3 separate regions of the Homo sapiens genome follow, and regions 1 and 3 are each linked to region 2. The links are contacts of gene promoters, found by promoter capture Hi-C in blood cells and fetal thymus (Javierre and others, 2016). All regions are on one chromosome and are shown on one strand. The core of a region is centred on a gene start or on the middle of the fragment in contact, and the rest is flanking DNA. Distances in the headings are between cores, read along the strand shown. Region 1 overlaps ARHGAP26 (Rho GTPase activating protein 26). Region 2 holds the start of ARHGAP26-AS1 (ARHGAP26 antisense RNA 1). Region 3 has its middle 7.1 kb from the start of ARHGAP26.

What was found. The method cuts DNA at HindIII sites, captures the fragments that hold promoters and counts their contacts. A CHiCAGO score of 5 or more calls a contact.
Region 1: a contact is called between a fragment that was not itself captured here and the fragment with the promoter of ARHGAP26-AS1 in region 2, in 1 of 17 cell types (neutrophils). The highest score is 5.4, in neutrophils.
Region 3: a contact is called between a fragment that was not itself captured here and the fragment with the promoter of ARHGAP26-AS1 in region 2, in 13 of 17 cell types (neutrophils, endothelial precursors, total CD8 T cells and 10 more). The highest score is 9.5, in neutrophils.

Annotation. Positions count from the first base shown.
Region 1 is chr5:142,782,573-142,787,007 of GRCh38, forward strand. The region is part of intron 1 of ARHGAP26 (Rho GTPase activating protein 26); the gene reads left to right. Among named protein-coding and RNA genes, the nearest start is that of ARHGAP26, 14 kb to the left of the region's middle. The HindIII fragment of the contact is 9,850 bases long and covers 1-4,435 here.
Region 2 is chr5:142,867,012-142,871,727 of GRCh38, forward strand. ARHGAP26-AS1 (ARHGAP26 antisense RNA 1) reads right to left here and starts at 1,899. Exons shown (of 6, transcript NR_046680.1): 1 at 1,789-1,899; 2 at 846-1,078. The region is part of intron 1 of ARHGAP26 (Rho GTPase activating protein 26); the gene reads left to right. RefSeq lists a silencer at 13-307. The HindIII fragment of the contact is 5,262 bases long and covers 1-3,891 here.
Region 3 is chr5:142,761,105-142,765,533 of GRCh38, forward strand. No RefSeq gene overlaps it. Among named protein-coding and RNA genes, the nearest start is that of ARHGAP26, 7.1 kb to the right of the region's middle. The HindIII fragment of the contact is 3,227 bases long and covers 634-3,860 here.

The DNA of each region.
Region 1 (4,435 bases), core at 1,933-4,432, 83 kb before region 2:
TGAAACCATAGGGAGCATCCACATTTAGCAGGTGGGTAGCAGAGAGTTGGAGAGGCTTTGATGACTTGATGTTTCATCCTGGCCAGTTTAGGTGAGGACTGTTTGGAGGCCTTTGGATTTGACCTTTGGAGATGAAACTGGAGAAAACAGCATAAGTGCAAGGGAGGATAATAAATATCTATTATACCTTACAATATTATTGTGAGGAGCAGCTGAGATAATTGTAGATATTATGCTTAGCAGTGTAAGCAGGCCTGTGGTAAGTGACCTGTTATTGGAATCTGCCTTTAGAGTGTCCTTGTAAGATAGTGGTTCTTAAAAGTGAAGGTGTACAAGAATTCCCCTAACTGCAGATTCTCTGGCTTTACCCAAGGAAATGCTGATGCATGAGCTCTAGGCAGGTCTGGAAACCCGAATTTCCTATACCCCCGCCCCCACTCCCTTCCATCTCACCCCAAGTGATTTGCATGGTGGGAGTCCTTGGACCACACATTAGGTCTAAATAGGTCAGCAGAGATTCTGCATAAATCTGGTCCCCAAATCCTGTTCTTCCTTAATGTGCACAGCTGTGCTCTCCAGCCTCGTGGGCACATCTCAGATATCTGGAGGGTGTTTGCATTACTGCAGGCCTAGGAATGATGCAGGAGGGTTTCAGAAGCGTAAAAGTTCTAGCAGCTTGAGAACATGTCAGCCAGTGTGGCTCCACGCCTGGGATCCAGTTGTTCCGTGAGCTTGGCCTGTGAGCGGGAACCCTTCAGCAGCATTGCCAGCGGATGTGGGGGAGCTCCTGAAAGGAAACTTTTGCTCCTGGGCAATCACAGGGAAACTGTATTCCCACAGTGAGTCTTGGGTGCTCTTGTCAGGGTTAAAGTCATTTGGGGTCAGAGCCTGTAATTATGTTTCACATTTTTTTTTTCTTTAAAAACATTCAGGAAGCATAATGAGCTGGTTGAGCTGTTGCACAGCAAGGGGAACTCAGGATCTGGGGAGAGGAGGAGAGAGACTGGGTGATGGCTCTGGAGCTGAGATGCCTTAAACCCAGAGAGAGCTGATCTCCCCCTTCTACCTGGAGGTGCCCCTGGGCAACTCATTTCTGGCAAATACTGCTGTCTCTGTTCTGATCTCAGCTGGTTCTCACCCTTTTAAAGCAGGGCTGGATGACTGGGCAGACCACAGCTGCTGCTGGTGTGATCCCAGGGTGTCACCACCAGGAAATTAGTGCTGCTTTCACTCTGCTATTTGCTTCTTAAGAAAATCTGTGGGTTGCTCTTCCAAAAATAAGGTTTTCTTGCATTTGTATCTGACTAGTGCACTGAAATGTTTGACACAGACTTTACCGTGGGCGACTTACCCAGCAGATCATCAGCCACACCACCCCTGCTGTGGACAATATGTCATTGTGGAGGCCAGGGCAGGCACTGGAGGCGAGTGCCTCAGCATCCGTAGGCTTCGGCATCCAGATGCTCCTGCTGCATCTGTGTCTGCTGGCCAGGACTTGCCACAATCTGCCGGCCTTCTGACCGAAGCTGCCCAGAGCTCAGTGTGCAAGGTCAGCAGACTACCATGCTGCCAGCTCTGTTTAGAGCAGCAAGATGGGTTTCTCTCTGGAAAGAAAGCCTGTTTCCTCTTACGTAGCCAGCATGCTTGTAATCGGTTCCCCAGCAGGGAAGCTCTGCTCCATTGCATAGGAAATTGGAGTGGAACTGATAGCTTTTGGCCTCTGTGTCTTTTGGGATATAACTTTGGCTTGCTTCTCATCTCCCCCACCTCTCCTGGCCAGCTTAACTTCATACCATACTGCAAGGAAAAGACACAGCCCAGTGGGGCTTGCTTGGGATTTTGTGCTTGAAACCGTACGTAATTTGTACATGAAGATGATCACCAGTTGAAGATAACTTAAATTTTGCTTGTTTTCCTAAGGAGTCTAATCCTTACTGCCCCTAAACTGAGTCTCTTTAAGAAAGACAATTTGTTTTTTGATGGTTAAGCAAGAAACTTGTAAAATGTCAAACTGGAGAAGGATGACTCATATCTCTTAATGTGCCGTCTCAATCAGCCATATTACTGAGCTCCCCAAATGGGCAGCATGGGGGTAGGCGATGGTAGGCAGAGACCATGGACGATGTTTTTTAAAAACAGCTTTTTTGAGATACAATTCACACGACACAATTTACCCATTTGCAGCATACAATTCAATGGCTTTTAGTATATGCACAGGATTTTGCATTCATCTTCACGATTAATATTAGCATATTTTCATCATTCCCCCAAAGCAATCCTGTAGTCCTTAGCTAATATCTGCCATTCTTTCCATCCCTACCTCTCATCCCTAGGCAACCACTTCCTTAGGATTTTTTTTTTTTTTTTTTTTTGAGATGGAGTCTTGCTCTGTTGTCCAGGCTGGAGTGCAGTGGCGCGATCTCGGCTCACTGCAAGCTCCGCCTCCCTCCTGAGTTCATGCCATTCTCTTGCCTCAGCCTCCCAAGTAGCTGGGTCTACAGGCGCCCACCACCATGCCCGGCTAATTTTTTGTATTTTTAGTAGAGACAGGGTTTCACTGTGTTAGCCAGGATGGTGTCGATCTCCTGATCTCGTGATCCGCCCACCTCGGCCTCCCAAAGTGCCGGGATTCCTTAGGATTTTTAACTCATGTCTCCAAGTGTGGCACTCTCCTATCTGCTTCGTCTCTTGATCTTGTGAAGCCACATACCCTTTTCCTTCAGTGCATCCAAACAATTTGCAGCTCCTCAGAATGCTGCAGTTCCAACACCAGGATGTTCCGACCTGGCACTGTTCTTGCTCTTCACACATTCTTGTCCTCTGACAGATTTACTAGTGCAACCTGACTAATGCACACTCACTGCCGAGGGGGCCTTTAGGCCTCTGGTTTCACACTTCTTTTGTCTTGTCTGTCCCTTGGTGTTGATCTTGCTTTAGAGAGAGTAATTGGAACGAGAGCGTGTTATTTCTGCTTGAGAATGGGTACCCCAAATCCAGTAGGTAGATGCATTCCTTCATTTCTACAGAGGAAAAAAATTGCCAGTACTATCCTGATTTGGCTGGTTGCACTTCAGGGTTTCAGCTTTAACCATTTTAGGGACTATTGACAAAAGTAAACTTTTTATATGCTGAAATGGTGATGTTTGGGGGTGTCAGTGGTCTTAACAGGAAAGCCCTTCTTCTTCACTAGCAACCTTGCATTGTTCTAGGAAATTCCAGTCCAAATGTAGAAAGCGTGTTTTCTACCATCTGTATGTTTTCTCTTTCTCTCATTTGCTTTCCTCCCTTCTTTTTCTTTCCCTTCACCTTTCCCCACACACCCCCATCATTTGTTCACTGTGTCTGGCCTTCTACCATCTCTCTCTTGCCTTGCCAAAGGACCAGGGAGGTGACTGATCCCTGGTATTTTTTTTTTTTTTTAAATAGACAGAGTCTTGTCTTGTCACCCAGTGTGGTAGTACAGTCATAGCTCACTGTACCCTCAGACTTCTGGGCACAAGCAATCCTCCCACCTCAGCCTCCCAAGTAGCCAGAACTACTGGCTTTTGCCACTATGCCTGGCTAATTAAAAAACATTTTTTTTTTTTTTTGTAGCGATGGGGGTCTCAGTGTGTTGCCCAGCTGGTCTAGAACTCCTGGCCTCAAGTGATCCTCCTGCCTTGGCCTCCCAAAGTGCTGGGATTACAGGTGTAAGCCATGGTGTTTGGCCCTAATACATTTTTTAAAAAGTTAATTTCTTTAAGAGTTGGGGTCTTCCTTTATCACCCAGGCTGGAATGCAGTGGTGTGATCATAGCTCACTGCAGCCTCGGACTCCTGGACTCAAGTGTTCCTCCCACCTCATTTTCCTGAGTAGCTGGGACTAGAGGAGCATGCTACCATGCTCAGCTAAGTTTAAAAAAGTGTTTTTAGAGATAGGATCTTGCTGTGTTGCTCAGGCTGGTCTCAAATTCCTGGCCTCAAATGATCTTCCCACCTTAGCCTCCTGAGTAGCTGGGATTCATCCCTGATATCTCAGTTATGGAGAAAACAAAGCCTTTGGTAAATGGAAATGACGTGAAACAGATTTCTGGAGTTCTAGAATTTTTTTTTTTTTTTTTTTTTTTTTGAGATGGAGTCTTGCTCTATGCAGTGGCATGATCTTGGCTCACTGCAACCTCCGCCTCCCGGGCTGAAGCAATTCTCCTGCCTCAGCCTCCCGAGTAGCTGGGATTATAGGCACATGCTACCACAGCCGGCTAATTTTTGTATTTTTAGTAGAGACGGGGTTTCACCATGTTGGCCAGGCTGGTCTTGAACTCCTGACCTCGTGATCTGCCCGCCTTGGCCTCCCAAAGTGCTGAGATTACAGGCATGAGCCACTGCGTCCGGCTTGGATTTCTATAATTATAGCTAAAATGACTCTCAGCTTTGAGGTGACTAAGACATTCTGGTTC
Region 2 (4,716 bases), core at 649-3,148:
GTGGAAGCCAGGGCCCCTCTCTCAGTTGCTGAGTGTCCACTGGACATTTCTAGGTGGTTATTTGTTCCTCAGTGGGACAGGATCTGTTCTCAGCACTGCCTTTAAGGCTGGCCCTGTCATTTCTCCTTGAGTCTTAGCTGTTGTTTAAATTAGCTGCTTGGTCAAGGTGTTCTCTGATATAGTTGATTGCCACCTAGTGGCCACAGGTAAGACCGTGTGTCACGGAAACGAGAAAAATGCTATGGAGAATTTTGTTTCATTCTAAGATTTGCACAGGGTGTGTGTGTGTGTGTGTGTGTGTGTGTGTGTGTGTGTGTTTTGTTTGTTTTTGCTAGTACAATGCCAGGAGTCTGGGCTGCAGAATGGTATTTACAAGGGACTGTAACTTGCTTTTCTTATAATGAAGCACATCGAACTAGGTTTAAACTGCTACATACAGACTTGGGGAAATGGGGAGTCGTTGGAAATGCCTCTCTCCAAGCACAGTTTCTGATTGGATATGTTCTCAGTTTTCCCAGATACGGGGAGAAAGAAAAGAGCGATCTCTGGGGACTCTTCCTTAAACCATTTTAACTGCAACCTGGGGCTTGTGCTGGGGCTAAGAGAGGACAGTTGGTTGTGGCCAGCAGTTGGGTTGTATGTAGCTCATTTCTCCAGCTTCCTTGGTATAGGTGAGGTTTTATTTTATGCTCCTGCTGGTGGTAGCTCTCCCTCCAGCTCTGTGGGACTCTTCCTCAATGGACAACATGAAGGGAGGTGGTCACATGCTAATAGGAAGCACATTCCCACATATATATCAGGCTCTAGCCAGACTTACATAAGTTGGAGAGTTTGTCCTAACTTACCTGCTTTTTTTTTCACATGTCAAACATTGAGTTGGGAGGTTCACCTCTGATGAAGGCTAATGGACTTATGGAGTGCCCAACTTCCTCTCTCTTTGTTCTTTCTGCAATACCTGCTCTCAGTCAAGCAGTAGAGTGTTGGGCTTTGGGGATAGAGTGGTGAGCATGAAGGGATATGATCCTCATCCTTATAGAATGTACTAGTTGGGGAGGCATTACTTGAAGAGAAGAATTACCTGAACAAATATAAAATTGCTCTGAAGAAAAGATCTATAGTATAGTACTCAGAGAGTGAGAAATAGGGTTGGGTTTGGCCTGATTAGAGAAGTCAGGGAAGGCTTCCTGGAGGAAAGAACTTTTGGGCCAAGGGCTGCAGGCAGAGGTGGCATGTGGTGGCAGGTAGGAGTTGGGCATGCCCCGGGAACTGGCAGAGGCTGGAGCAGCTGGAGCCCAGAGAGGGGTGTGGGGAGGCCAGACCCTGCAGGGCCTCTCAGGCCTTGGGAGGGACTTTCGTCTTCACCTCCAGAGCTCTGGGAAGCCATCACAGGGCTCACTGCTGGTATTGACACAACTGGGTGGAGAACTGATTTGACGGACAAAAGTGGATGTGGGGAGGCCAGAGAGGAGCAGTTGCAGTTATCTGGGCAAATGGAGGTGTTTTGTTTAGGGGTTGCTGATAGTGATGGGAAGGAGTGGGCAGAATTGAGATGTGCTTAGGAGACTTGGGAATGGACATGGCACATGAGGGAGCCTGCTGTGTGAGAGGATGACATGTACTGGTGACTTGTGCGGCAGGGTGAATGGTGGTGCCCTTCGTTACACTGGGGATGCAGGAAGAGGCCCTCGGCTGGCTCTCTGGGGAGAGGGTGGCAGAGGGTGTTTGAGTAGAGAGAGTTTTGTTTTGAGTGTGTTGAGTTTGACCTAGGAATGGGGGTGTGGGCTAAACCTGAAGTCTCTCTGGGGCTCGTGTCCATCCATGTCTCAGCTGTCTGTCATGGGTCCTCTCTGGAGACTCTCAGGTATTCCACCTGTAAGCCAGCTTGTGTTTCCTTGCCCGCTCACATCGTACAACAGGTTTGGAGGGACACTGTGTCCAGCCCTGTCCGAGGCACTCTTTGTGCATTGTGACATGAAGCCATTCATGACTAGTTCCAGAATTATTCCAAATACAAGGTGATGAGGCACAGAGAGTAACTGGCGTCCAGGAAAGGAAGAGATTAACAAGGCCCGGGGACTTTGGTATTCTTGAACTTTAGGCAGCCATGAGGCCAATCCTGTTGCAAGTTCTAACCTCAATGATGGCCTTTCTGAGCTGTAATCACTTTCTTTTCTTTTCTTTTTCTTTTTCTTTTTTCTTTTTTTTTTTTTTTTGAGACAGCGTCTCACACTGTCGCCTAGGCTGGAGTGCAATGGTGCAACCTCGGCTCACTGCAGCCTCAGCCTCCCGGGTTCACGCGATTCTCCTGCCTCAGCCTCCCTGAGTAGCTGGGATTACAGGTGCACACCAGTACACCCGGCTATTTTATTTTATTTTTTTTTGTATTTTTAGTAGAGATGAGGTTTCACTATGTTGGCCAGACTGGTCTCGAACTCCTGACCTCATGATCCACCCGCCTTGGCCTCCCGGAACTGTAATCACTTTCTAAGTCCAAAGGGAAAGATGTGACTGAGCAGCAAAACATTTCAAGGGTAGTTAATACACAATTTTGGTAACTTTGGAGGTCACAAAGGCAATAGATGCACTGAAAATACAGTAGTAAGGTTACCTGAGTCCATGTTTGTGTGTGCACATGTATGTTAAGTTTTACCCAAGGAGAAAAAGGAAATGGCTTGACTTGTGGTATTACTGGTACAACTTGTATAAAATTAAGGTAGATTCTAATTTTTAAAAAATTATGGTAAACCTTCTGTGTTAGTGAAAGTTGGATCTATTTGGGTTAAATTCTCTTAAATCCGGTGCAGATTAATATCTGCTGGCATCTCCAAGAAAAGAAGGGCACTTCCTCTAGTCCCTGAGTGAGCAGGTGGCTCTGGGAGCAGTCTCTCAAGGCCCAAACTTCTAGCTGCTTCCATATTTCTTAGCCATCTGGTCCCCTCACTCAGAGAAGCACAGCCCTACCTACTCTGGAAAGCAGATACTTGGCCTCCCCAGATGCCGGCAGTTATGACTTCCCTCCACTCTGGCCAGCATTCTGCTTTTCTAGCAACAGATGTTTCTGCAAAGTAAATATTATTGACTCTGCTTGGCTCCTTGCTGTGTCTTGCACTGCCTGCACATGAAACAGCAGGGTTATATGAGGAGGGTGCCACGACGCTTGGCATGCACCCAGCACCAGTGCCAGCCTCTTCTCTTTTCTCTCTCCTCTTATTGGAATGTGTGTGTTAGATTCCTGTGTGCATCAGAGGGAAAGCTCTTGAAATAAATCTTTGGGCTGCTCCATATCCAAGGTGAAAATCTACATAAGATACCACCAATCTTACTGGATTGAAATTGGCAAGAAGCAATGGTTTTTAGGTAGAGAGTTCTCTTTTTAGTGTTGTTTTCAATCTCTCAAGTAACATAGAGGGTTTACCTTAATGGGGTGAAGTGGTATGGTGTTCCCACATACTACAAGGATCTCAGTTCACAGGACTTAAGTCACAGGTCCTCTCCTTAGTGGCCTTGCACTCTTAGGTCAGTCCTTTAACTTCTCCGAGCTCCAAACAGTTATTCATGCTTACCTTTCCTGGTTCCTCTTACTGGAGGATTCATATATGAGGAAAGAATAGCCCAGCTATACCTAGAACTGAGTCTTGTGATGTGCAGAGTGCCTATACAGTGTTTCTCACTGGATCCTCCCTGCCTAACCCACGGGCTGACAGCCTCCGTCAGATGAGATAACTGAGACTTTATGACTAACCCAGGGTTGGTTACATATCTGATCTATGTTGGAGCTGGAACTTGAACCCAGGAGCTGTGGGATTGGGGTGGGGGCAAGGGGTTGGGGTTGATCACCCTGTCACCATCACCCCATAGAATGCAAGTGGAGAAGGGAGGTTCTCCAAAACAAGCTTGAGATGCTGTCCCAAAGTCTGGGGAATGGATTCCAAACAAGTAAAAGGACAGGTGTCCACTTTAGCTGTACTGAAAAATTCCTCTATCAAGCCTGAGGTGAGTTCCTTTTTCAGGTCCATTCATCAGGATTCTCGCTCTACCCAGCTTTCCTCATTGGCTTGAAGCCCAATACTGACTCCATACCAGCAGTCATTACCTAATCGTCTATCGGGGGATCGGCCTGTCCTTCAGCTTCATGGGGTCCTCACTGCTTCTCAGGCTTGCACTGTGGCAGGGTGTGCTCTGTGCCAGTGGACAAGGAAATCAGGTCACCTGCTGGTCATAAGCTAACAGGCCCTGCCCTGGTTCAATGGGTGCCCCTGTGCAGAAGCCTCACAAAGGCCCCGTTGTGCATGACCAGCCACTCCCTGATCCTCCTGGCAGCTGCCCTTGGCAGTGCGGCTTTTCAGGTGTGTGCTGGGAGCTTTCCCGAGCCTGGCTTGCATTTCACCTGTTTCCACTTTGTTGAGATGATTGAGTTTCTCTTGCTTATGGGGGAGGCACAGGATTGTCGGGTGGGTAGAAAGGCAAACCTGTGTTACTCTTAGTGCAGACTTTGTGCGTTCTCATCAGGGAACATTCTGACTAAAATGGGAATGTGTATAACCACACCCACATTTGATGCACACACATTTGGAGGCTCTAACAGAACATTGTCTTCCACTCTAAAATATTATTCTTTCCCTTTTTTCTTGTGTCTACCTGTAGCCTCCTCCTGCCTTCCTGCCCACGGTGTTCTGGCTTTTGGGTGCATCTGTTTCCTTCCTGGCTTGCCTTTTG
Region 3 (4,429 bases), core at 997-3,496, 110 kb before region 2:
CAAGACTGTATGGCCTACAAAGCCTAAAAGTTTGTTATAGAAAAGTTTGCTGACCAACTCTATTGGTTGCTTAGTATTGCTAGGCACTCTGCAAGTCACAGGGAACACAGCAAACTAGACACATGACTGCCTTGGGCTTAAGAAGAGGTTTCTAAACTTTTGAATAAAAAACAAAACAAACAACAAACAAAGTTGGAGGGACATAAAACTTCCAAATATTAATTTTGCCAGTGGGGTTTGTTTGTTTTTTTGTTTGAGATGGAGTCTTGCTCTGTCACCCAGGCTGGAGTGCAATGGCGCGATCTCGGCTCACTGCAACCTCTGCTTCCTGGGTTCGAGCAATTTTCTTGTCTCAGCTTCCAGAGTAGCTGGGATTACAGGCACCCGCCACCACGCTTGGCTAATTTTTTTGTATTTTTAGCAGAGACGGGTCTGGTCTCGAACTCCCGACCTCAGGTGATTCGCCCAGCTCCTGGGCGTGAGCCCCAGTGGGTATTTCTTAAAAACACAGCTACTATTTTCACTCATCATTTTATTTAAAAAAGGAGTATGTTAATACAAAAAAGTATATTAATGCCAAATTTGTAGGAAGAACATAATCTCAAAAAGCACTCTTTCAAATGGAATATATTAAGCTTCATGAAAAACTTTACATGGTCATTGTTTTTCTCATTTCATTATGGATCAAAGTAAACTTTCTAGACTGGCCTATATCATCAGACCAGCTTTGGGAAGCACAGGAGTAGTTCACATTGTTACTTTTCAGGCAAAACAATCTTTAAAAATGTTTAGTCTTTATAGTGATAGAATGCTTTAGTTTGAGAATTTAACTGCTAGTAGCTTTTTTTTTTTTTTTTTTTTTTGAGATGGAGTCTCGCTCTGTATCCCAAGCTGGAGTGCAGTGGCGCGATCTCGGCTCACTGCAACTTCAGCCTCCCGGGTTCACGCTATTCTCCTGCCTCAGTCTCCCAAGTAGCTGGGACTACAGGCGCCCACCACCACGCCCGGCTAATTTTTTGTATTTTTAGTAGAGATGGGGTTTTACCATGTTAGCCAGGATGGTCTCGATCTCCTGACCTCGTGATCCACCTGCTTCAGCCTCCCAAAGTGTTGGGATTACGGGTGTGAGCCACTGCGCCCGGCCAACAGCTACTAACTTTTTAAAGTCAAAAATAGAAATATAGTGATGGGAAATTCCAGAAAAGAAATACAAAGGAAAATGGGGAAGTAAAGAAATCTGCCAATATTCACTCTCCCCTAACAGACATTGTATCCCATTCGCCCTGTGTTTAGATGGAGGATAATCCATTTTAGCATTGATTTTTCATCCTGGCTTCTCCATAGATGAAAAGAAGATCAGAATACTTTATCTATTGAAATATTGCCCTCTTCACTGCCACTAAGCCACCTTCAACAAACACATGCACTCACTAAAAACCACAGCATCATCTCAAAACCGGAGCCATCAAAAGAAATGTGAATTCCCATGGATGAAAAGCCCATCCATCAATAAGGATTCGAAGTTGGGAAGTGATAGTTTCCCACTTGCTTTAGAAAGTTTGCTAATGCTTCATGACAGACTTCCTATTTTGCAATAACTAAAATGACAGAAGACTAGAAATTATCGCTTTATCTTATATGTCCTTATTCCTGCAGTCTATGTTAGTGTTTATGTCCTAAATGCATTTTTTTTTTTTTTTTTTTGAGGCGGAGTCTCACTCTGTCACCCAGGCTGGAGTGCAGTGGCGTGATTCCGGCTCATTGCAACCTCCGCCTCCCAAGTTCAAGCAATTCTCCTGCCTCAGCCTCCTGAGTAGCTGGGATTACAGGCATGCGCCACCACGCCCAGCTAATTTTGTATTTTTAATAGAGAGGGGATTTCACTATCTTAGCCAGGCTGATCTCAAACTCCCGATCTCAAGTAATCCACCTGCCTCAGCCTCCCAAAGTGCTGGGATTACAGGCGTGAGCCACCACACCCTCCTAAATGCATTTTATAGAACACTATGCATAGGATGTAATGTTTGGGGGAAAAACAGGATTCTGTGCTCAAAGAACTACGAGAAATACTTGGTTAAGCAAAATCTCAAGGATTACTTAACACAGGATTTCTCAGGATCTATAATATGCTATTGTCCATTTAAAGCATATACTCATGTATAAGATTCAGAGGCAAGAAAGAGAGCAAGGCACATAGGAATGCTTGAGTTTAGGTTACTGAAGTGAACTAATTTATTTGGTCATTTTAGCACCAACAATTATAGAAGAATAGGCCAATTATTTTTATTGACCCAGATAATTCTGGGTCTCTGTTGAAATTGTCTTTGATAGTTTTCTGGTTTCATATCAGCTTTTGAACAGTTTATTTTTATCAATAGAGTGTCCTTTTGCTTAAATACTTTTCCTCATTTAATACATATTCCTGCCCTGTAAATGCAGATATCATCTTTTAATGTTTAAGAAATCATCCTTAAAACTATGATTTTCTAATGTGAAAACTGCCTAAGAACCATGGATTAATGCAGCTGCTGAAAATCCAAGAGGAGGTGAAACAATAGGTTTTATAATTAATGCATTATATCAACTAGAGTAGTTTTGACTTTGAGTAACAGGAAACCCCATTAATGTAGCTTAAACAAATAGGTTGTTTTTTCCCTCTTTATGTGATGAGTAGTTGGGAGGTGGGTACTCTGGAGATGGGTATTGTGGCTCGTGGGTGTCACCAAGCTACCTGGCTCCCTCTGTTTTCCCATCCAGCCATCCTTAGCATGTGATATTCATCTTCATGACTGCAAGATGGCTGCTGCTGCTCCATGCATTGCATCCACATTCAAGACAAAAAGAATAGGGAAATGAAGTAAGCAGAAGGTGTGTGTCAGCAGTTGTCTCTTTATTAAAAAAACAACAAGAACAAAAAAACACACAAACCTTTCCAAAGCCCCAGCCAATACACTTCCAAGTGTATCTCAGTGGTCAGAAAAGTGGCACATGGCCACCACCAGCTGTGTGAAAACCTAAGAAATTAAATTCTTTAGTTGGGCACATTGGGGTTCTGCTAGAAACGTAACCTAAGTCTGGAGCTAGACTACCTTTTGAGAATCTCAGCTCTGCCACTCATTAGTTATATGATTTTAGGTGATTCATTTCACTTGCCTCCCCTGTAAAGGGAGATAAGATAATAATAGGGTTGCTAAGTATTAATTGAGTTAATATTTTTAAAGTGTTTAGAACTGTATCTGGTATACAGTAAATGTTATATAAGCACTTTCAATAAATGAGTAAGGTAAAGAGTGAATATTAGGTAGAAAAGTGGCAAGCATGAAATAAATCATGAAAACTGAAAATAAAAGTATTGCTAACATGTAAAACTTGTGTAGAACAAATGCTATGAGTTTCACTAATTTCTTGAGCCAAAGAATGTTAAATAGGTGCTGCTACCTCCCTTAAAGAACTATGAGCCAGTGGCTTTATGAGGATAGATTATTCTTTTTTCTTTAAGGAAACTGAGAATTTTATGTCTGTTTCAATCAACTGCTTCTACATAAATTGTAGGGCCTGTGATTTAAAGCTAAAGCAAATTAGAGGCTTGTATAATTATTGACATATTTGGGACATACCAGCAACAAGCCCTGGAAAACCACATACAGCTCATAAGGAGCGATAATGAAATCGCTCCTCTGTCATTCATATGTGATCTCATTCAAGTTTTAGGTGTTAGGCTATTATTATTTAACAATGTTTTTAGACATATAAAATGTATTTCTATAGATATTTTATATGGATGTAGTTATTTAAGCCAGATAGATTTGAATTCTAAGTCTAGCTCTATCAGTAACTACATTAGGCATCTTACTTCTCTAAGCTTTAGTTTCCTTACCTGTAAAATGGGGATGGTAGCAGCATCTAATTCTCAGGATTGTAGTAAACATTAAATAAAGAAATGTAATAGAGTGCTTAGCACAGATCCCGTTACATAGCAAAAGCTTAATAAATATCAGCATCACTGCCATCATCATTATTTTATTATTATTATTATTTTTGAGACAGAGTCTCATTTTGTTGCCCAGGCTGGAGTGCAGTGGTGCGATATTGGCTCACTGCAACCTCTGCCTCCCAGGTTCAAGCGATTCTCCTGCCTCAGCCTTCCGAGTAGCTGGGATTACAGACGCGTGCCACTACGCCCAGACAATTTTTTGTATTTTTAGTAGAGACGGGTTTTCACCATGTTAGCCAGGATAGTCTCGATCTCCTGACCTCGTGATCCACCCTCCTTGGCCTCCCACAGTGCTGGGATTACAAGCATGAGCCACCGCGCCAGGCCCATCATCATTATTTTTTAAAATCAACCTTTAATGAGGTTTACACACAATAAAACGCACCCATGAGTTTTGACAAATGCAATGCCTGTGTAACTACCACCCTAACTGAG